Regions from separate parts of the Homo sapiens genome. Here regions 2, 3, 4, 5, 6 and 7 are each linked to region 1. Evidence: promoter capture Hi-C in 16 types of primary human blood cells and fetal thymus (Javierre and others, 2016). All regions are on one chromosome and are shown on one strand. The core of a region is centred on a gene start or on the middle of the fragment in contact, and the rest is flanking DNA. Distances in the headings are between cores, read along the strand shown.

Region 1 (3,007 bases), core at 476-2,975:
TGTCCTTGTCTACATTTCCAAAATATTGGACTTGTCCATGACCAAACAGGTGGGAATGAAGGCCATTATTTTGATTATTTTTCTCTTTTAAGAATTTCCAGAAATATGTTCTTTGTAGATAAAGAATTACATATTTGTAGAGTTCTAAGCGTTCTTAAAATTCATTTTGCCCAACTCCTTCCTTTCCTAAAGGAGACAACAGAAGCTGCAGAAATAGCCTCTCTGTTATTATTACATAGCAGCAGTCTCCTGTCTTTAAATATTTGAACTAAACACATTTTACATTTTAATGAATTTAATTTACAGTGTGATGTCCAGTATTGGGATTGCATACTATTTCTTAAAACTTCTTAGAACTGTTAGCTCTAATATATCAAATTTCTTGTTGGGAGTAAGACTGCAAGTTAAAAAAAAAAATTAGAACCTTAGTTTGGAGGAACCTTAAAGGTCATGTCAACTGAAAAAATACGAAAGGAATGGTACTGAAAGGCATGAACATAACAGAGATTGAATGCTTTCTCCAGGTGGAGAGACTCCACAGTCTGGCAGGGACTTTTTGTCCTATTTAAAAATATAGCTAACACCAGTTTGGTGTTCTCTTTGGATGACAAGAGGGATCTGTCGTTTTAATGTCTTCTCTCGCAGCCCCCTCACCGCAGCCCCCTCACACCTGTGAGGCTTCTTTGACGTTGAGCGTGCACAACCCGCTGCCAGTCCGCGGTTCCCAAGTGCCCGCGCAGCCAGCTTGCAGGGGAGTTGTGCGCGGTGGCTACAGCCTGTTGATCCCACTTCCTCCTGCTCTAGTCCGGGCTAGGGAGTGGCTCTGCCAGGACTTCCAAGGCTTTTTGTCTCGGGTACTGGTGTTCGCATGGCTCGAGTGTATTGTTTTCTTCCAGGCAATCTCGGTTAGCGCTTCAGCTTAGACACTTCTTGTGCGTTCTGTCGTCTTGGGCTGCGTGTAGTCTCTTGTTTCTGCGCTTTCTCCACGCCCTTCCCAGTTTCCTGTTAGCCGAAGGGGATCGCTCTTTCTGAACGAAAAGTTCTCAGAGCGGAGCTGAACCTCCCGGAAAATGCTCTTCTCTTCCGTGTGCGCCGGATGGGGGTGGGGGTGGGCCAGAAACTGAACGCCGCCGTCAGGAGAGCTGAGGGGACCCGACGGCCCTGGCGGAGGCGGGAGAGGTACGGTCCTCGGAGTGGGGCTGGGGGTGGGGAAACCGACGAGGGGCAGCCCCCGACTGTCTTGGTGGCAGAGGGGACTTTTATTCAGCTGGAACCGCGCGGCGAGGCCCAAGTGTCTCTGGAGAGATTCGGGGTTCAGGAGGTGGCGGGTGCACCCAAGGGTGCTGGGAGGAAGCTCCAGGTTCCCATTCTTCCCCAGGGATCGGCGTTGCCCCTGCTGTCCAGAAGTGAGAGGGGGTGTGCGGGCATCGCCACTACGGGGTGGGCTGCAGAGGTTTCCTGCCTCCCCCACCCTCCTGTCCATCCTAGGGACCCAGACCGTAAGGGAGTGGAAGAGATGTTGCTCCAAACCCTGTCACCCCATCCTCTCTACCCGCGCTGGTCCTATCCGAGGCTGGGTGCGCAGGGGTCCGAGGCGGGCGGGGGTCCGTTACCTCTGCGTCCCACCGTGGCCGCCGCTCCGGCGGGAACCGAGCGGAGGAGCCGGGTGGACCCCTGCCTGGAGGGCGCCTGCCCCGGGCGACCCTTACCTCGCGGGGGTAGCTAGGGAAACGGAAGATGGCGGCGGCGGCCGGGCACGGGGTTCCGGGCTCCGCTCGGGCAGAGCCCACCCGCTGACCAACGCCGCCGCCCCCGCCGGGCGGTGCTGTGTCCCCGCAGGAGTCGGAGAGGATGGCAGGGGCCGGAGGCCAGCACCACCCTCCGGGCGCCGCTGGAGGAGCGGCCGCCGGAGCCGGCGCCGCGGTCACCTCCGCCGCTGCCTCGGCGGGGCCGGGAGAGGATTCGTCTGACAGCGAAGCGGAGCAAGAGGGACCCCAGAAACTGATCCGCAAAGTGTCTACCTCGGGGCAGATCCGGACCAAGGTAGGGCGGAGGAGGCGGGCCTGAGGGCCGCGTGGAAAGCGGGAGGTGGAGAGGGCGCGGGGGCGCTGGAACGCGCCGGGCGATCCCGGGAAGGCGGGGAAGGCGGGGAAGGCGGGGAAGGCGGGGAAGGCGGGGAAGGCGGGGAAGGCGGGGAAGGCGGGGAAGGCGGGGATGGTGAGACGGTGAGGCGGGGCGGGGCCTGGGGCGCGGGCGGGGCGGGGAGGGGTGGGGCGGGGCCCGGGGGCGCTGGACCGCGGTGCTGCGGGACGGATTCCCGGCGGCTGCGCGGGAGGCTGCGAGCCTGGGCTCCCAGGGAGTTCGACTGGCAGAGGCGGGTGCAGGGAACCCGCGGCTCGGCGGGAGCGTGGGAAAAAGCTGACGCGCAGTCGCGAGTTCCTACTTAGGGAACTTAAAAGGAGAGTTTCAATTTTTCTTCCCTGCCGTTCGGGGGAGCGTGCGCATGTGCTGGCCAACCAGCCTGCGCTGCAGTGAGCCCTGCTGCTTTCCCACTTAGGCCCACTCAGAGGGTGGGTGGAAGGTGACACCGGTCAGCCTTTCCTGCCCCTCTGCCTCCTGCTGCGGTCTGGAAGGCAGAAGCCCCGAGGCAGGCAAGTGGGACATGGTGTTCGCGGCTTAACCGCACCCTGCATGGCTCCAAGGGCTGGCCAGGCTTTCGTGTCGCAGGTTCCCGCCAAGTGCAGGCAGGGTTCAGAACCATGCGTCCATGGTTCTTTTTAATAATGAGAAGTTACCTCTGTGCTGTGTGGACATTAGGATGGTGTGTTACTCTTGTTAATGAAGCTTGTGCTGTCGACCTGTGAGGTCTCAAAGTTAATTTTTAATTTGATCATGAACATACCAAAGCAAATGCTTATGGATATTAAAGGATTTTTATGTATTCTAATTTTCATTGTAATTTAAAAATCTTCACAGAGAGAGTCTGTTATCAGTAGGGAAATTTAAC
Region 2 (2,941 bases), core at 325-2,824, 730 kb before region 1:
ATCACTTGAGCTCAGCAGTTTGAGGTTATGGTGATTGTGTCACTGCACACCAGCTTGGGCAACAGAGTGAGACTGTCTCTAAAAAATAAATAAGAAAGATAGGTGAGATCATTGTTCTAAGGATCCATTATATGATGGTGGGGAAGACAGACACTAAATAATAGCATAAATAAGATTTCAGGAAATGATAGCACTGTGTGGAAAATAGAGTAACATGGTAGAGAATATGTTGGGGAAGGAAGGAGGATGGGAGTATTTGATAAAGTGGGCAAGTAGGGGACATGTGAGACTTGGATAATGAGGAACCATCCATGGGAAGATCTAGGAAAGCAATTCAGGCAGAAGGAACACAAGTGTAGGAGGCCTGAGGTGGGGATAAGCTTGGCATGTTGAGTAATTTAACACCCAGTGTGACTGAACAATGTAAGCCAGGGAAGAGTGGAAAGCAATGGGGTGTTCTTCGCATCAGTGGCTGCCAGGGAGAGATGTTAATTGTGTACCCTGGCTGGTGGCATTCGGAAATAAAGATGTTGCTTATCCTTGCATTGGACTAATGATGGTCTTTGGAGTAAGATCAGAGTTTGCAGCTAAGCTGAGCAGCTTATAAACAAGTTTTTGAACCTCTGGAGTTTCAGTTTCCACATCTCTGAAGTGGAAGTAATGACACCTACATTAAAGAATTGGTATTAAGTAAGAGATTACAAATTTTTTACAGACATATCATAGCTGCTCAATAAGTGGTAGTATTTGTGTGTGTGTGTGTATGCGTGCACACACCCATGCACTTTGGTTTCATTCTTGCGGTAGCAAAGGCTTTTAGTGCAGTTTCTGGTATTTTTCTGTTGCCACATATGTTTTTGCTTAAATTTTTTTTTTGAGATGGTGTCTTGCTCTACTGCCCAGGCTGAGTGCAGTGGCACAGTCATGCCTTACTGCAGCCTCAGCCTCGTGGGCTCAAGTGATCCTCCCACCTCAGCCTCCCAAGCAGTTAGGACCACAGATGTGCACCACCACGCCTGAGGAATTTTTAATTTTTTTGTAGAGATGAGATCTTGCTTTATTCCCCAGGCTGGTCTTGAACTTCTGGGCTCAAGCAGTCCTCTCGCCTTGGCCTCCCAAAGCATTGGAATTATTTTGAATTAAAAAATTCTGTGTACTAGGAAAGGGAAACAAAATAAAAAATTCTGTGGCAGTATTGATTGGTGAATTGTCATTTTTTTCTGTTTGTTTGTTTTGAGACAGGGTCTCATTCAGTCGCCCAGGCTGGAGTGCAGTGGCATGATCTCGGCTCACTGCAGCTTCCAGCTCCTGGGTTCAGGTGATTCTCCTGCCTCAGCCACCCAAGTAGCTGGGATTACAGGCATGCGCCACCACGTCTGGCTAATTTTTGTAATTTTTTTTTTTTTTTTTTTGAGACAGAGTCTCGCTCTGTTTCCCAGGCTGGAGTGCAGTGGTGTGATCTCTGCTCACTGCAACCTCTGCCTCCTGCGTTCAAGCGATTCTCCTGCCTAAGCCTCCTGAGTAGCTGGGATTACAGGCACGCACCACCACACCCAGCTAATTTTTGTATTTTTAGTAGAGACGGTTTCACCATGTTGGCCAGGTTGGTCTCGAACTCCTGAGCTCAAGCGATCCGCCCACCTTTGCCTCCCAAAGTGCTGGAATTACAAGCGTGAGCCACCTTGCTGAGCCACATTTCCTGTTTTTTAAATGTCTTTTTTCATGGTCTTTTATAAAAATGAAAATATGTAGATTTTAGAACAATTTGACAAGAATAGGTAACAAAAGTACACTGCATGTTTGTAAGTGATATCCTTTCTATCACATTTTAGACCTAATTTTGGATCTTGAGTTTAGAATATATGATGCTGTGAGAAGTTGCTCCATTATGTATTCATTTGATAAAATAACTTTTGTTCATATTTCTTTACAGAAATGTTATGAACAGAAGCAGTACAAAAATGGCCTCAAGTTTTGCAAGATGATTCTGTCGAACCCAAAATTTGCTGAACATGGAGGTATTGTCTCATGTGAGAGATTGCTTTAGGGAAATCAAATTCTAAAACCAGGCATTAACAGTGAAAGAAGAGTATTTCCCCGATTCCAGGGCCTTGCAGTTCTCTATTAGAGTGCATAAATGTTCAGCATTTTTTTAATGCTTTATATGAGTCTTCTAGATTACCTGTATTATCCTTAAGTATGTATACTTAAGGATAAGATTAGGATGGTTCGTTTATCTATTGGGGAAAAAATTGGAGAAAGTATGTATCAGTATTTTTATGGACCTGATTTCCTTTATTACTTTGAATAGAATTTAAAGTTTATACCTTGGTTTCCTGTGTGTAAAATTAGGACAAAATTTGCAATATAGAAGTATGAAGATATGGTCACCTGCACTTTATTCTTTGGTAGATGTGTTTTGTTTTGTTTTTTTTTAGTATGTGCTGACGTTTACATATGATATTACTAATTTACCATTAGATTGTATATTTTGAGTTGTTTTCTAACACTGGTGTTAATAAAGTTTGTATTTTCTGGTTGTGTCCTTTTTCAGTAACAGCCAGTGTTAGAAGGGTGGATCAGGATAGACATGAAAATAATGATCCTGTAGCATAGCAAAGCTGGTTGAGATTACTCAGTATCAGACTTGGATAATGGTTGAGATCATCTTATTGGGAAAATAGGCTGACCTTGCTCACTTTTCCAACAACATTTAAAAGATTCTTTGAAGGAAATGGAAAGAAATCTTCATTTCATAGAATTAATTTTAAAGCTTGTTTTCAAGCTTTTTAGCTGTGGAAGCTTTATCCAAATGGTGCCTGTGGGAAAGTTCAATATGTAAAACAGATAAAAGGTGTTGGAGCGGGGTTTGGGCCACAGGATCACCATGTTCTGAATACCATAGAGTTTGAAAATCATTCTTCTTGTGTAATTCCCTTCT
Region 3 (3,201 bases), core at 55-2,554, 690 kb before region 1:
GAGCATATATAAATCAAGGCAAGTTACTTTAGAAAACACTAGAATGTTTTCAGTCATGCACAAAGTAACTTCCGGGTTCCTTATGTGTCTCTTACATGTCATTACTCTGAGTATTTTTCTGATGTTTTTTAAGAGAGGGGATCTCACTGTGTTGCGCAAGCTGAACTTCTGGGCTCAAGTGATCCTCCCACCTCAGCCTGCTGAGTGGCAAGGACTACAGGCGTGTGCCACCATGCCTAGCTGATTTTGTGTGCGTGTGTGTGTGTGTGCATACGCGCGCACACGCGGGGGTTTGGGGGAGGTTTCTAGAGGTGGGATTTTGCCATGTTGTCCAGGCTGATCTTGAACTCCTGAGCTCTAGCAATCTGCCTGTCTCAGCCTCCGAAAGTGCTGGGATTACAGGTGTGAGCTGCCACACCCTCTATGAGTTTTTTTAAGGCACATTCCAGACTTACTGTTTCATCTGTAAATATCTTAGTGTGCATCTCTATTTAAAACACGTAAACAGAAGAAGTCATCGCAGTGCCATGTCACACAAAACCTCATAACATAATATCTGATACCCAATCTTAGTGTGCATCTCTATTTAAAACACGTAAACAGAAGAAGTCATCGCAGTGCCATGTCACACAAAACCTCATAACATAATATCTGATACCCAGTCCGCATTCACATTTCCCCCATTATCCAAAAGAAGTCTTTGTGTTTGGTTTATTTGAGTATAGATCCAGTTAAGGTTCACACCAAATAATTGGTTGTTATATCTCCATAAGTTGATGGTTATGTCTCATTATTTTAATCTAGAACAATAACTCTCCCCTCCCTTTCAAAAAAACAGTCATTTGTTGAAAGGTCATTTGTCTTACATATCCCATATTCTAGATTTGGTTGATTGCCTTTCTCATGGTATCATTTGCTGTATTTCACTGTCATTCATACTTGTAAGTTATAGTTAGGTTTACTTGCTGGATTAGATTCAGGTTCTGTTTAAATACGGGTGGTGCTTTGTGCTTCCTGTTGTGTCATGTCAGGAAGCTTGAGACATTCTGGTTTTCTCTCTTTTTTGATGTTAAGATTGATAAAGATTCAGATGTTGTCAGCCTGTTATACTCATTAAAAAGGTCCATGACGGCGTGGGGGCACGGTGGCTCCACACCTGTGATCCCAACACTTTTGGGGATGCTGAGGCAGAAAGATCTCTTGAAGCCAGGATTTGGAGGCCAGCCTGGGCAACAAAGTGAGACCCTGTCCCTACAAAAAATTAAAATATTAGCCACGTTCGGTGGTTCTCACCTGTAGTCCCAGCTACTTGTGAAGCTGAGGCATGAGGATCACTGGAGCCTAGGAGTTCCAGGCTACAGTTAGTTATGATCATGCCACTGCACTCCAGTGTTGGTGATAGAACAAGACAAAAATTCCTCATTGGCCTCTCAGCAATTGAAGATCATTGCCTAGATCCCTTGTTGATTCTAATAATTTCTGCATTCGTTAGCTGGAATTTTTCTTATAAAGAACTTTCCTTCATCAAATACTTGGTTCCCTTGAAATATAGTTTATATAAGAGGAACAGAGTAGAAGCTTAACTCATTGCCTTTATTTTATTATTTGTGTTTTAATGTGTGCTATAGTATGTTTGCATGTCATTTGATCAGCTATGCTAGGAAACCTGTTTGTTTTGATGTAGTGTGGGTATATTCACTCTTTCCTCCTCATTTTTACACAAGTATGTCTTCCCTTCTGAAATCCATTTTGAGAGCTTGATATTTCTTTTCTGCTCCTCTGTAGTTAGAGGGTACAGGATGGGGAACAGGATAGAACTCAGGTAAGTGTATATATGTGACTGCTTTTTTAAGAGGACTGGGCTGTGTTTTTTCTACTTAGGTTTTTGTCAGATGGTAGGGTTGTTTCTACTTTGTCAGGTGTATCTTCTTCCTATAGGTCATAGTCTTCAACTTTGGGTATCCCTGATTTAGTATTGAGGCCTGGAAAATGGTAAGCCATGGCAGTTTGGCAGTTCTTGCCTCTGCTGAAATCTTGCAGTGGTAGTTAGGAAATCTCTTTGCCAAGTTTTTTTCCTTGACTTTTCCTGGTCTTGCTGCCCTTTTGCTTTCAGGCTGAGAGTTCACAGAATTAGTTTGACGTATATCTTTTCCCCAGCATTGTTTCTTTGGAGTGAGATTGGGGTTAGAAGCCTGTCAAAGTACAATCTTATTTCTCTACATGGCTGCCACTTTTTGAACTTTATGAAGTCATACCTCTTTCTTTTGAAATTAGTAGTTTTTGCTGAGTCTTTCTTGCTTATTATTATTGCAATAGTCATTTCATTATGAATTAGGAGAGAGAAAATATGTGATTTGCTTTACATTCTTTCTATAATAATTTAATATTTGTTTGATTGCAGAGAATGGGGAGAAGGAACCCCCGACAACACTACTCTGGGTTCAGTATTTCCTGGCACAGCACTTTGATAAACTTGGACAGTATTCTTTGGCTTTGGATTATATTAATGCTGCAATTGCTAGTACTCCAACTCTAATAGAATTATTCTATATGAAAGCAAAAATTTACAAGGTAAAATCTGAATCCTGTTTTTTGAGTAGTTGAAGAATTCAGCTACTTTAAGAATCCTTGGAGTTTTTTCTTTGTGGAAACAAGTTCTAGGGCACCCTGATAATCTTTTTCTAATAATCCTGTGTAGTTTCATGTTATATTAATTGTATAATCAATGTGTAATTAGATGTGTAATCATTTGAGCTCTTAGTAAATGTGAACTGTAATTTTGATTTCTAAATAAATTTGACAGAAATGGTGACAGATTTCTTTTTTGTCTGTGTAAATTATTTTCCATTTTATTGTACTCATATTCTCTTGATTATAAATTGTGGTTCCTTTAATTATCTTTTATAGCATATAGGTAATCTCAAAGAAGCTGCAAAGTGGATGGATGAAGCACAGTCTTTGGACACAGCTGATAGATTCATCAATTCCAAATGTGCAAAATACATGCTTCGAGCAAATATGATAAAAGAAGCAGAGGAAATGTGCTCCAAGTTCACAAGGGTAGGAAATAGCATGCATGAGCATGTAATTGTCTAAATTAAGACAGTTTGTGAAGTTTGTCTAAATTAAGACAGTTTGTGAAGAACTTCAGTGGAAGTTCATAAAAATTCATTTTTATTATTGTTTTTTAAAATCCCATTT
Region 4 (2,932 bases), core at 119-2,618, 790 kb before region 1:
CTCAGAAGGCTGAGGCAGGAGGATTGTTTGAGCCCCGGAGTTTGAGTGAGGGACCATCTCTTAAAAAAAAAAACAAAAAAAAAAAACATAAAAAATAAATACACCATATACAAAAATAACTAAAATAGATCAAAGACCTAAATGCATGGGATAAAAATAAAAAATACGTCAGTCTTGTAAGAAAACACAGATGTAAACCTTTGTGCCCTTAGATTAGGCAATTTTCTTAGATACGACTCCCAAAACTCAAGCAACAAGAGAAAAAAAGATAAATTGGACATCATCAAAATTTAAAAATATCATGCTTCAAAAGACAGTATCAAAAAAGTGAAGAGAAAACCACAGAATGGGAAATTTTTGCAAATCATATATCTGATCATGGACTTTTACCTAGAAGATAAAGACCACTCACAACTCAATAATGAAAAGACAATTAAATTTAAAAACTGGCAAAGGATCTGAACAGTGATTTCTCCCAAGATGATACACAAATGGCCAAATAAGCACCAGAAAAGATGCTCAACATCATTAATCTTCAGGAAAATGCAAATCAAAACCACAATAACACACCACTTCACATTCATAGGATGGCAATAATTGAAAGGGCGGATAATAAGTGTTGGCAAGTACGTGGAGAAATATGAACCCTCATACACTGTGTGTAGAGCTGTAAAATCGTTATAGTCACTTTGGAAAACAGTCTAGCACTTCCTCAAAAGGTTAAACATAGAGTTACCACATGAACCAGCAATCTATGTCCACAAAACAACTTGTACACAAAAGTTCACAGTATCGTTATTTATAATAACCAAAAAGTGGAAACAACTCAATGTTCATCAACTGATGAATGGATAAATAAAATGTGGTATATCCATACAATGGAATATAATTCAGTAATGAAAAGAAATAAAGTACTGGCTGGGCATGGTGGCTCATGCCTGTAATCCCAGCACATTGGGAGGCCAAGGTGGGTGGATCACTTGAGATCAGGAGTTTGAGACCAGCCTGGCCAACATGGTGAAACCCCGTCTCTACTGAAATACAAAAAAAATTAGCTGGGCATGGTGGCAGGGGCCTGTAGTCCCAGCTACTTGGGAGGCTGAGGCAGGAGAATGGCGTGAACCCGGGAGGCGGAGCTTGCAGTGAGCCGAGATCCCGCCACTGCACTCCAGCCTGGGCGACAGAGCGAGACTCCGTCTCAAAAAAAAAAAAAAAAAAAACATAAAAATAAAAAATAAAAGCTTCCTTCCTGGTTCCACTAATGCGCAGTCCCCTCCAGGAAGATTTACCCAATCAATCCAGGCTGGTTTGAGTGCCCTCTCCTCTTTGCTCCCATGAAACTGTGCCTCCCTCTAGTAGAGCAGGTCTCACATTATAAACAATACTTAAATAAGTTTCTCTCACTGGACCATAGAAGCCCACTGATGGGGTAGGAACTGTATGTGTAGCCCTAGTATGTAGGTACAGTGTTCAATAAAGGTCTGCTCAATAAAATAAAGCTTCTGAAAAGACCAACATTTTGTCTCCCAGACCTTGAGACCACGGGAAGTACCACGAGGAGCCTGTTTACTTAGTACATTGATCTTTAGTAGCTAAAGTGTGTCAAATACTCTGGGTACAGAGTCCTGTTCTTTCCAAGTGTTGAGCTTATTACTTGTAGGTTTTTTTAAAAGACTGAGTTCAGGCCAGCCTCAGTGGCTCGGTGGCTATAATCATATCGCTTTGGAAAGCCCTGGCACAATAGTCCTAGCTACTCAGGATGCTGAAGTGGGGGGCCAGGACTTACAGGTTACAGTGAGCTACGATTGAGTCACTGCACTCCTGCCTGGGCAACAAGTGAGAACCTGCTTCTGTGGGAAAAAAAAAACAAAGACTAAGTTCAATAAAGCTTTAACTTAGAAAATCAAATCTGTACTTACACACACGCATATAAGTGTGTGGTTTTTTTTTTCATAGCCCTTATGCAGGACACATAAGTATCTTTTACCTACTTTTACACATTGATTCTAATTCTTCAATTGCTTGTTCAGTCTCCTGAATTTCTTGGTAAATGGCTGCAAGAGGTGCCAACTCAGCATGCCTTCTGTTCAAGGACCTTCGGTTTTCCTCATTCACAGGGATATGCTGCAGACATTGCTCAAGTGTTTGGTACTCCTTACTCAGGTTCTCCATATATTTCTGTAGTGCTTTATGCTTCCAGAGCATCTTGGTGTCTTGATGGCAATATCTCCTGGACCAATTCTTACTTAACAGATGAAGAATGCAATTCCTGTTTTGTCTAAAAACTTGCAGCCTTGTATCAAGATGTATCTGTCTAAATTGATGAGAATGGAGCTGGATGTGACACTGGAGGTAACCATTAAGAGATGGATGTCTAAAAAGCCAAACACACAGGTGACGATTCATCTCAGCATCTGAAATACAATAAACACAGTCTTTAAAAAAAAATCATCTCTAAAGATACATGCATAATAAACCTGGAAGGAACATCAAGAAATCTTGTTTCATCTACTGCCTCAGCCAGCTCCACAGTCTTAAAATTCAACTGCCGGCTGGCAGCAGTGGCTCACGCCAGTAATCCCAGCACTTTGGGAGGCTGAGGCAGGCGGATCACCTGAGGGCAGGAGTTCGAGACCAGCCCAGCCAACATAGTGAAACACTGTCTCTACTAAAAATACAAAAATTATCCGGGCGTGGTGGCAGGCGCCTGTAATCCCAGCTACTCAGGAGTCTGAGGCAGGAGAATTGCCTGAACCCAGGAGGCAGAGGTTGCAGTGAGCCGAGATCATGCCATTGCACTCCAGCAAGGGGGACAATACCAAGACTTCGTCTCAAAAAAAAAAAAAATTCAGCTGCCTACAGAAAGAACATAATTCTTCAAATGTATGAATAACATATTAAAATAAATAAAAACAGCACTGCTTCCTACCTG
Region 5 (3,111 bases), core at 466-2,965, 850 kb before region 1:
AGCCACCAATGCCCACTGGTTTCTCTGAACACTGTAGCATTCCACTTCCTTCAACTTAACTCCAGTAATAGGGTCTCGTCCCCCCAAAATGTAGATGTAGCCATTGAGATATGCCACATCCATGCCCTCACGACACAGCAAGCGATCTGCAAGTTGCTGCCAACTATTCTGAGCTGGTTTATACACCCAGAGGTCTTTCCTGGGCTGAGCAGCTAGATAGATGTCATGGTCTGGGGACACACAGACAGCTGAGGAGGTGACAGTCTTAGTGTGAGCAAAGCTGGTCAAAGGGGATGGCATTGTGTAAATGTCCCCCGAGTAAGGGTCATAGCAGAGAAAGGGATCTCTAGGATGTCCAAAGAAGATCACCATCTCCTTGGCACACATACCCAGTCTCTGGGGTGGATTTTCTGCTGCAGATACAAGAGAGTTGCTGCTGCTACTGCTGCTGCTGCTGTTTGGCACTGGCACCAGAGACTTGTACAACAGGTCACCATAGCGCATCTGCAGGGCCCCTTCAATAACGTCCAGGCAGTACTTCTTCACGATGGGCTTGGTCAGCAGCCCTTCTAAGTAGTCCTGATCTTCTTCAGTGAAGTGCATCCAGCGCACGCACTTGAAGACTTCTGCAGCACTGGGACCCCGCTCTTTGGCAGCAGCCTCCAGCCACTGCACAGCTACATGGCATACAGTCCGCTCACTCTCTATGTCCAGACTATCCAGGCGTAGGACAGCCAGCAGCTGGGCCAGGGTTAGATCTGCTAGAGTCTCCTCCCGAATTGAACCCATTCGGCTGAGCTGCTTGAAGTTGTGAGCTATGTAGGACTGGGCCTGAGATCGAAGCTTGTGATGGTCGAAGGCGTCTGCAAACTTGAGGATGGCGGTGCAGTTGGTCAGGTCAAGACGTCGGGCTAAGAAGGAGGCACAGGCTTCCCGCACATATTCCAGCTGTAGCATGTCGGAGGCCGCGTACAGGCGCTGCACATTGGCCTCACTGAGAGACACACGACCCGTGTAGCAGTAGTCGACCAACACCTCGAAGGACTCGGCGTCCACATCGTGCATGGTCACGCTGGCCTGCTGGCTCTCGTACATGCCACCTGTGAACATGCTCTTGAAGTAGGGACACGCAGCTGCTAGCACGTTGCGATTGCAGGAAAAGAGGCGACCCGTGCCAGGCCCGCTGCCAGGCGTCACCACCTCGATGGTCACATCACACAGCAGCCGCGCGTCGTAGAAGGACTTGAGCTGTGCCAGCAGGGCTGCAGAATGGGCCGTGTCCTTTAACTCCTCTGGACCCGTGAAAAAGGCCGAAACCGAGGGCTTGGAAATCCTCTTGGGCCGCCTCCCACCACGGGGACTGGCGAGGCGGCGAGAGCGCGGGACGTCTTCCCGGGACTGCATGGTGGAGATGGCGACGGGCGCTGACGGCGAGAAAGGCTGCAGGACCAGGCTCTGGCTCCTCCTCAACCTTCCCTCGCTGACGCTAAGACAAGCCGCGTCCTGGAACAGACTGCGGCACGGGCCGCACTTCTGAATTCAGCCCTATCCCGCGGTGAGGCCTCCCTTTATTGCATAGACAGTGGCTGACTCACCCTCTCTCACTCCCGCGCCCTTTCTCCGCCTCCGCTCGCCCTCACAGGACCCGCTGGCTTGCAGCCGCGGAAGCCCCCACTGCCGCGCTGGCGATCCCGCTAGGCGCCCGGGAGAACTACTGCTCCCAGGTTGCCTTTCGCGCCCCGAGGCCTGCTGGGGCTCTCGGACGGCCGGGCGGGGACAGAGGGAAAGAAACCGCTTTGCATGTTGGGAGTAGTAGTTTGTGTAATATCGCGAGCTGTCCTTTAGTTGACTGCTCTAACAGTAGAAATTAATTCTCCTGGATTTGATGGTGAAGAGACTGTTGCCCAGGCTGGTCTTGAACTCCTGAGGGCTCAAATTATCCTCCTGCCTCGGCCTCTCAATGTGCTGGGATTACAGGCGTGAGCCACCGCCCCCTGCCAGTATTTCATAGGGTTTTGTGTGGTTCAATGATACCTTACATGGGATACTTAGATACATGTATGTTTTTGGTTAGAAGAATAGTAAAGCGTTACCCCGTGCCTAGAATGTAGCCAATAACTGTTAGATTCTCTTTTATAATTTATGATAAATGAGGCACCCACTAATTTGAAACCGAGTATTATTTTAAACCGCAAAATTTTACAAAGAATTTCTAGTTTTTAATGTTTATTCCTTCGAAAGATTTTGAAGGGCATTAACAATATTTTCAATATTAAATGATATCTATTGGTCTCGTTTAATAAGGATGTCTTAGACGACTAGGTTGAGGTCCTAAAGAACAGTATTAATAGATGGTCTCAAATACGCAAATCCAGCATATAAAAATAAATTATTTGCTGCTCTCACTAACATTTCATCTCTGGAGAGCAGGAGTATTTTCGTTAAGCTCCAAATATGAGTGTTTTCAAGTCGTCTAATACAGCCTCTTTCACTGCCGTTCCACAAATCAATTAACAGATTATGTAATTCCCTTTATTAAGGAGTTTTAGGGAGTATTTTAACTCAAAATATTTCAACAAACAGACTTTGTTCTGTACAAAAGCACATGATTCTCAGAATTCAACATCAGTACATGCCCTGACATTCCTTGAATTAATATATAGTATAGTCTATGCTTTACAAAGTCTTTTATATTTGCATTGGGATCAACAGTTAAATCATCAAAATCAAGTATTAGAGATTTGAGGCAGGAAAATAGGGTCTGGAGGCAGGGAACATAAGGCTGATTCACACTTTAGCTATAACAGGAAAGATCCTCTCCATAGGGTGTATGCTGAGTAAATGAGTTTGTAACTTTACTTCATTCTCTTCATTTACATAGGGTGTACACCAAGTAACCAGTGGAATCCTCTAGAGGGTATTTAAACCTTCAGAAATTCTGTAACAGGGCCCTTGAGCCCCTATGCTCAGGCCCGCTCCCCACTGTGGAGTGTACTTTCATTTTCAGTAAATCTCTGCTTTTGTTGTTTCATTGTTTCCTTGCTTTGTTTATGTGTTTTGTCCAATTTTTTGTCCAAAACGCCAAGAACCTGGACACCCTCCACCAGTAAC
Region 6 (3,283 bases), core at 228-2,727, 670 kb before region 1:
TTACAGATAACATCATGTAAGTGGAATTATGTAGAATTTGTCCTGTGACTGGCTTATTTCACTTAGAATAATGTCCTCCATATTCATCCATGTTGGCATAAATGGCAGGATTTCACTCTTTTAAGGCTGATATTCCATTGATATATATGCCACATATTCTTCATTTATCTGTTGATGCACACTTGGGTTGTTTCCATATCTACTATCGCAGTGTGTCTTTTTTTTCTGTGATGGAGTCTTGCTCTGTCGCCCAGGCTGGAGTGCAGTGGCACGATCTCAGCTCACTGCAAGCTCCACCTCCAAGGTTCACGCCATTCTCCTGCCTCAGCCTCCCGAGTAGCTGGGACTACAGGCACCCACCACCACGCCTGGCTAATTTTTTTGTATTTTTTAGCAGAGATGGGGTTTCACCGTGTTAGCCAGGATGGTCTCGATCTCCTGACCTCATGATCCTCCCTCCTGGGCCTCCCAAAGTGCTGGGCTTACAGGCATGAGCCACCACGCCCGGCCTGCAGTGTGTCTTTTTAAGTTCCTTAATAGGCAGTAGAATGAAAACATTTGGACAGTAAATTTAAGTAACTAAGAAGCTTAGTATAAGAATTACAACGGATTTCAGTGCCTCCTGGCTCCTGTTCTCTGAGAGGATAGTCATGAGATCTGAGTTTTTCTATTGAGGATAGTCTCATTAATAGATTTGGTTAACAGCTTGTTAAAGAAAATTACTTTAATCCCTGATGGTAGGAAAAGCCGACTAGCCCTTTCTTCTTTCCCAGAATGTGTAGATGTTAGTTCTAGAACACAGGTGTCTGTTAATATTTTAGCAGCACTTTGTGACTTTACATCTTTAGGATAGCCATTGTGATAAGTGAAAGTTCTTTATCTTAAAGTAGCTAAAGTGGCTTCATAGCCCCTGAACGGGATCATATATTGGCTTCGGCTCAATCCCAGCCTCTGGGAGCCTGTGAACCTACGGCCATATGATCAACCTACCCTGTAGCTTATTCAGGACTACTCCCCTATCCCTTATCCTCCACCCCCTACTCCTAATCCACCAGGGATCTGTAGGGACTCATACTTCTGGCAGACCTGTGACCATCTCTGAGTTCCACTCAAGGCGTAAGCGCTCTCTGGTTCTCTTTCCTCTCCCATCCTCTCATCCCCATCTGTTGTTTTCTCTTCCTTAGGTCAGCCCCTCTCTATACTCTTTCCTTGTGTTCTTTGCAATTTACCCTCTAAAAATATTCAACTGCATGGCTTTGCCAGATGCAAATTCTTAATCTTCCTTGTACTAAATCTACGTTTTCACAGTTCCATACATCTTCTTTCTCTGCCTTCACCATTTCCGCTTATCTTTTAATTTTAACTGAAAATCGTAACGGATCTCTATCCATTATGCAGCCCTTTCAAGTGGAGACTGTTTATTCTCTCACCATCTCCCTGGAAAGAGCATTCAGAGCATTTCACTCTCCACCATTTCTAGCCCATCACTCTTCCAACATTGTACAAACAAATCCATGCTCCTTTGAGGATAATGCTATTGGGCTGTACTCTTGACATCTCTTTGTTGCTGTCATTTATACACTTCTCTGACTCACAGACTTTCCCTTCTCTCCAATCGTGCTGAAATTCCAGGTGGTTTCAGCATCTATTTGGTGCACCCACTCAACACTCTGGCCTCTCAGTTTCTTGATCTCCCTGGTATCAATACTTTTCATCTCCATCTGTTTTAGTCTGTTTTCTGTTGCTGTAATGGAATACCACAGACTGGGTAATTGATAAGGAAATTATAACCTCACTTCCCATTTAAACAAAAAATAGAAGCCATCAGATACAAATTCTTAATCTTCCCTGTACTAAATCTATAAACTTATTTCTGATTGCAGAATTTTTTCCTCCTTTCATCTTGTCACATTTTTCTTCCCCAAAAGGGTAATTTTCCCTGTGTTCTGAATTTCTTTCCCTCAGGTCTTAGGGTACTTACTTGGCTTGATCACATCCTGTACCATTTGTCTCTGCCTCTCTACTGGTTTCTTTCCATGAGCATTTTAAGCATGTTCAGAAAGGGCATCGTTTTGCAGTTTGTTTTCAAATCTTGCAAGGACATATGTGGGCTAGCAGTTGCCTGCTATTTGGGTGCCCTGTGATGACCACTTATTTAGCTTGATTGTAAGTTCTGTAAGGTCTCCAACCATGTCTGTCTTGAGTATAAATCACAGAGCTCAGCGCAAAATAAATATTCATAAATGTCATTGATGAACACTCACAGTCACTAAGTATTTTCTCTGATCTCTGATTTGCCTTCACCACTGCCCTGTGAAAGAGGTCATATTATCATCCCCATTTTCCATGACAGTCAGCTGATAGGATGTAAGCTTCTCTCAGGGCCACAGTTTCTTAGTACAAAGCAGGATCCAAACCCACTCCTTCTAATTTTGAATTGAGTGTTCCTTCCTCTCTGTCAGATGCTCAGTAATCATGCCGTGTCTTACTCATTTTCCTGGCCTTGTGTGTGTTTAAAGTCTTGTTTCCTCGACAAGAGGTTCTCTTTTTTTTTTTTTTCAATTCCCATTTATTTTTGGCTCTTGGGGCGATGTCATCTTTTCAGTATGAAAAAAAGCAGCAAGTTCAACACAAAATAGAAATCTCAAATGTAGGATAGAACAAAACCAAGTGTGTGGGGGGGGGGAAGCAACAGCAAAAGGAAGAAATGAGATGTTGTGAAAAAGATGGAGGAGGGTTCCCCTCTCCTCTGAGGATTGACTCAAACACTGATGTGGCAGTATACACCATTCCACAGTCAGGGATGTTCCTTCTTTTTAGGGGGTAAGAAAAAGTGGGGATTAAGAGGACATTTCTGGAGGCTTAGGGACCAAGGCTGGACTCTTTCCCCCACTCCTTGATCCCTTTCTCTGATCAGGGGAAAGGAGCTCGAGTGAGGGAGGTAGAGTTGGAAAGGAAAGGATTCCACTTGACAGAGTGGGACAGACACCTCCAAAGAGTAGAGCTTAGAGGGAGATTGAAAGTGGAGATAATACTGCTGACACCTCTCTTGAAGCTGAGATGGGAAATGGACATACTTAGAAATTAGTGACTTTAATAGCCTGGATTTCCCTCTCCAAAACTTTTAGAATGGAAAATCCCATCCCCTTCCTTATATAGTGACTTCTACCCACTGCCTTCTACCATCTTCTACTTTGGGCTTAGGATGGTGGCCATTATCTACATGGGTTTTCAGCACCTGGTTGGTTCTAAATGGCATCTGGATGAGACCCAGCTTCTTGGA
Region 7 (3,140 bases), core at 542-3,041, 640 kb before region 1:
TTCTGCCGACTCGGCCCGTCAGGCTGCACTTGGCTTGTGCTACCAGCCTGGATCCCACTCCTGCCAAAGTCAAGCCAGGCACAGAGAGGCAGGGAGTGTGTGAATGAGCAATCACAGGGTCTGGCCACTGTGCACAGCCAGGTGTGCCAGCTGCAGCAGGGTGGGCAGCTCCAGGCACTGGCACAGGCAGTGCCTTTGTGCGAGGCTACGGCTGGACCAGACATACTACAAGCGGCTTCTGCTTGTATCCAGACTAGTGTCTGGGCAAGGTGGAAAGCAGTGGTGCCTGAAAGCTTGCAGAGCCCCAAAGAGAGTGTTATAGCACGTCACAGCCCTTGCTTGGGAGCCCCAAGTTCTGGGCTCCTTCCACCTCTGCCCACCTGACATAGTGTATTCTGAGTTTTGTGGTTTTATTCCTTGCTGATTTAAAATATATTTCTAGCACACATATAGGCATGTCAATAACATAATGATTAATTTTAATTGCTTTTGACTTTTATAAAAAAGATTTTTTTAAAGTCAGTGTGGGCTGATATAACAAAGTACTGTAGACTGAGTGGCTTATAAACAATAGAAATTTATTTCTTACAGTTCTGGAGGCTGGAAGCCCAAGATCAGAGTGCCAGCCTGGTGGGGCCCTGGGGAGGACCCTCTTCTGAGTTGCAGATTGCCATCTTCCTGTTGTATCCTCAAAAGGTGAAAGGAGCACTATCTGGCTCTCAGGCCTCTTCTTATAAGGGCACTAATCCCATCCAAGAGGGCTCTACCTTCATGACCTGATTATCTCCCACAGGCCCACATTGGGATTAGGGTTTCAACATATGAATTCTTGGTGCAGCGGGGGAAGCACAAAAATTTAGTCCATTGCAGATATCATGCCATATATAATCTTCTGGGACTTTTTCCCCACTTATTTTTTTTTTTATTACGAAGTGTCATTCATATTGTTGTGGTTAGCTGTGATTCATTCATCTTCACTGCTACATAGTATTCCACAGTGTGAATATGCCATAATTTATTAATCTGGCCTTCTTGACTCCAGAGTGTAGGCTTTACCATGTGTTGCTGTAATCAACATCACTGTAGTGAACATTCTCATAAGGGGCTCTCTCTCCTTGTGCACACATGCCGGCGTCTTCCTTGGTTTCTACCAAAGAATGAAATGCTGGGTTAGTAGTAGGGTGTGTGAATGTCAACTTCACAAGATAATGCCAGACTGTTTTCCAAAGCGGTTGTAGCAATTTATACTCTTGCCAGCAATGTTTAAGCTATCTTATTCATCTATCCACTTTAGTATTTGGTGTTGCCAGACTTAATTTTTGCCAATCAAATGGATGTAAATTGGTGTCTTTTTATGGTCTTGATTTGCATTTCCAGAGTTATTTATGAGGACTTCAATAAATGGCACTGGAGAAACTTACTATCCATATGAAGAGTAAATTAGATTTCTATCTTACATCAGACATGCAAATCAACTCTGGATGGATTAACCATTCAAATATCAAAAGCAATTAAAACTTTCAGAAGGAAAAAGTGGTGAATATCTTTAGATCTTGAGGGTAGGGAAGGCTTTCTTAAACATTGGACACAAAAAAAGCCCACTATAGAATGGAAGTGTGATGAATTTCATTACATAACAATTAAAAACTTGTGTTCATCAACAACGTGTTAAATAAGGTCAAAAGATAAGCTACAAACAGAGAGGATGTATCACATTTAACAAAAATTCTATATCAAAATAATTCTAAGAACTCCTATAAATCAATAAGAAGAGAACACAACTCAACAGGAAAATACACAAAATACATAAATTGGTATTTCACAGAATAAACACATAAGGCCAATACTTATATGATGAGACACTTAATTTCATCATTTTAAAAAGCATCTTTTGAGGAAAAACAGGATATTTTATGGTCTTCTTATTCCAGGTTAAGGGAAAATAAGCATCTAGGAAAAAAAATTCAACCAGCATTCATCCAATATTCCAGAAAAAGTAACTAAACCTAAAAGAAAGTAGAATATTTACCAATGTATTTTAAGTTTACTCTCTGATTTTGTTTATGTAATAACAAGAATTTTGTTATTGCACATTGTCAACACTCAACAATAATTAATTGATTGATTCACAGTGCCTGATTTTCTATAAGCCTAACTTTGATTTCTTTCAAACTGGAAACAGATGGGTACATGCTTTTAAGGTGTTAATACACTATAGAACATGATCTTCTTTCTCTGAACTCTGTGCCCTGTTGGCTATAAGAGTAAAGCATTCACTTGGAGGAAGAAATCAGATTTAATCTAAAAGGCATGGTATAGCTATGCAGAGCCCAGACCCTTGTGGTTGAAACAAAGTGCTTAGTCGGCATTGCTCAGGCAAATCAGAGCAACAAGGGGATAGGAATGCCCCCAGGTCACTGCACACACTGATCTCCGAATAAACTGAATGAGCTTTTATGAAACAAGTCTCCCCATAAATATGTGCAAATATTATGTATCAATTAAAAAAGTTAAAAAAACAAACACCAGGTACCACATTGTAAGGTGCCCTTACAGAGCACTGGTTTAATAAAGGTGACATTTCAGAGAGTATTCACTTCTTTTTGTATCAGATTGGTAAAATGTGAGCTCAGCATTTTATTTATATTCAGGAAATAATGTTAATATTTTACTGAAAATATTAATATTTCTAAAGATTGATCAGTACAAAAGCGTCCACACAAAATTCATCAACATGGTAAGATTGCCTTATGTTTTCTGCAGACAGCTATAACATAATTTGGTATAATCTTTCTGTAGGTAATGTGAAAATACACACTCAAAGACTTAGAATTTCATATATTTCTCTGACCCAGCAATTTAATATCTATAAATTTATTCTAAGGAAACAATCATAGATGAGTCTAAAAATATAGCTCTTAGAATATTTATCAGAGTGTATCTACGATAGTGAAAAAGTAAAAATCTAAATGTTAAAAAGTGGGGAGCTGATTAAATTGCAGTTTATCCACATACCTATTAAAATGATGAGAAATAATATTTAAAGACATGGAAACTGATCATATGGTTACAGGTTATAAACAGTATATAAAATACAACTCTGTTTAAAATACATGCACCAATCTATGCCTAAAGAAAAC

Evidence for each region. The method cuts DNA at HindIII sites, captures the fragments that hold promoters and counts their contacts. A CHiCAGO score of 5 or more calls a contact.
Region 2: a fragment that was not itself captured here is called in contact with the fragment with the promoter of DGKH in region 1 in 1 of 17 cell types (fetal thymus); the score reaches 6.2 in fetal thymus.
Region 3: a fragment that was not itself captured here is called in contact with the fragment with the promoter of DGKH in region 1 in 5 of 17 cell types (fetal thymus, non-activated CD4 T cells, monocytes and 2 more); the score reaches 9.7 in fetal thymus.
Region 4: a contact is called between a fragment that was not itself captured here and the fragment with the promoter of DGKH in region 1, in 2 of 17 cell types (naive CD8 T cells and total B cells). The highest score is 6.1, in naive CD8 T cells.
Region 5: the fragment with the promoter of KBTBD7 here is called in contact with the fragment with the promoter of DGKH in region 1 in 2 of 17 cell types (monocytes and non-activated CD4 T cells); the score reaches 5.6 in monocytes.
Region 6: a contact is called between a fragment that was not itself captured here and the fragment with the promoter of DGKH in region 1, in 4 of 17 cell types (M1 macrophages, M2 macrophages, M0 macrophages and 1 more). The highest score is 9.8, in M1 macrophages.
Region 7: a contact is called between a fragment that was not itself captured here and the fragment with the promoter of DGKH in region 1, in 1 of 17 cell types (fetal thymus). The highest score is 7.0, in fetal thymus.

The regions. Positions count from the first base shown.
Region 1 is chr13:42,046,923-42,049,929 of GRCh38, forward strand. DGKH (diacylglycerol kinase eta) reads left to right here and starts at 1,726. Exons shown (of 30, transcript NM_178009.5): 1 at 1,726-2,043. The coding sequence starts at 1,852. RefSeq lists an enhancer at 873-962 and a silencer at 1,503-2,032. The HindIII fragment of the contact is 8,345 bases long and covers 1-2,842 here.
Region 2 is chr13:41,314,913-41,317,853 of GRCh38, forward strand. It overlaps NAA16 (N-alpha-acetyltransferase 16, NatA auxiliary subunit), which reads left to right. Exons shown (of 20, transcript NM_024561.5): 2 at 1,934-2,018. Among named protein-coding and RNA genes, the nearest start is that of NAA16, 5.1 kb to the left of the region's middle. The HindIII fragment of the contact is 2,393 bases long and covers 379-2,771 here.
Region 3 is chr13:41,355,903-41,359,103 of GRCh38, forward strand. NAA16 (N-alpha-acetyltransferase 16, NatA auxiliary subunit) reads left to right here. Exons shown (of 20, transcript NM_024561.5): 11 at 2,402-2,571; 12 at 2,908-3,060. Among named protein-coding and RNA genes, the nearest start is that of NAA16, 46 kb to the left of the region's middle. The HindIII fragment of the contact is 543 bases long and covers 1,034-1,576 here.
Region 4 is chr13:41,258,502-41,261,433 of GRCh38, forward strand. It overlaps MTRF1 (mitochondrial translation release factor 1), which reads right to left. Exons shown (of 10, transcript NM_004294.4): 2 at 1,992-2,414. The coding sequence starts at 2,406. Among named protein-coding and RNA genes, the nearest start is that of MTRF1, 3.6 kb to the right of the region's middle. The HindIII fragment of the contact is 258 bases long and covers 1,240-1,497 here.
Region 5 is chr13:41,192,854-41,195,964 of GRCh38, forward strand. KBTBD7 (kelch repeat and BTB domain containing 7) reads right to left here and starts at 1,716. Exons shown (of 1, transcript NM_032138.7): 1 at 1-1,716. The coding sequence starts at 1,404. The region is part of intron 3 of KBTBD6-DT (KBTBD6 divergent transcript); the gene reads left to right. RefSeq lists enhancers at 458-1,165, 1,166-1,872, 1,217-1,486, 1,797-1,886. The HindIII fragment of the contact is 3,616 bases long and covers 842-3,111 here.
Region 6 is chr13:41,381,129-41,384,411 of GRCh38, forward strand. It overlaps the pseudogene TUBBP2. Among named protein-coding and RNA genes, the nearest start is that of NAA16, 72 kb to the left of the region's middle. The HindIII fragment of the contact is 1,785 bases long and covers 586-2,370 here.
Region 7 is chr13:41,403,195-41,406,334 of GRCh38, forward strand. No RefSeq gene overlaps it. Among named protein-coding and RNA genes, the nearest start is that of RGCC, 53 kb to the right of the region's middle. The HindIII fragment of the contact is 3,000 bases long and covers 292-3,140 here.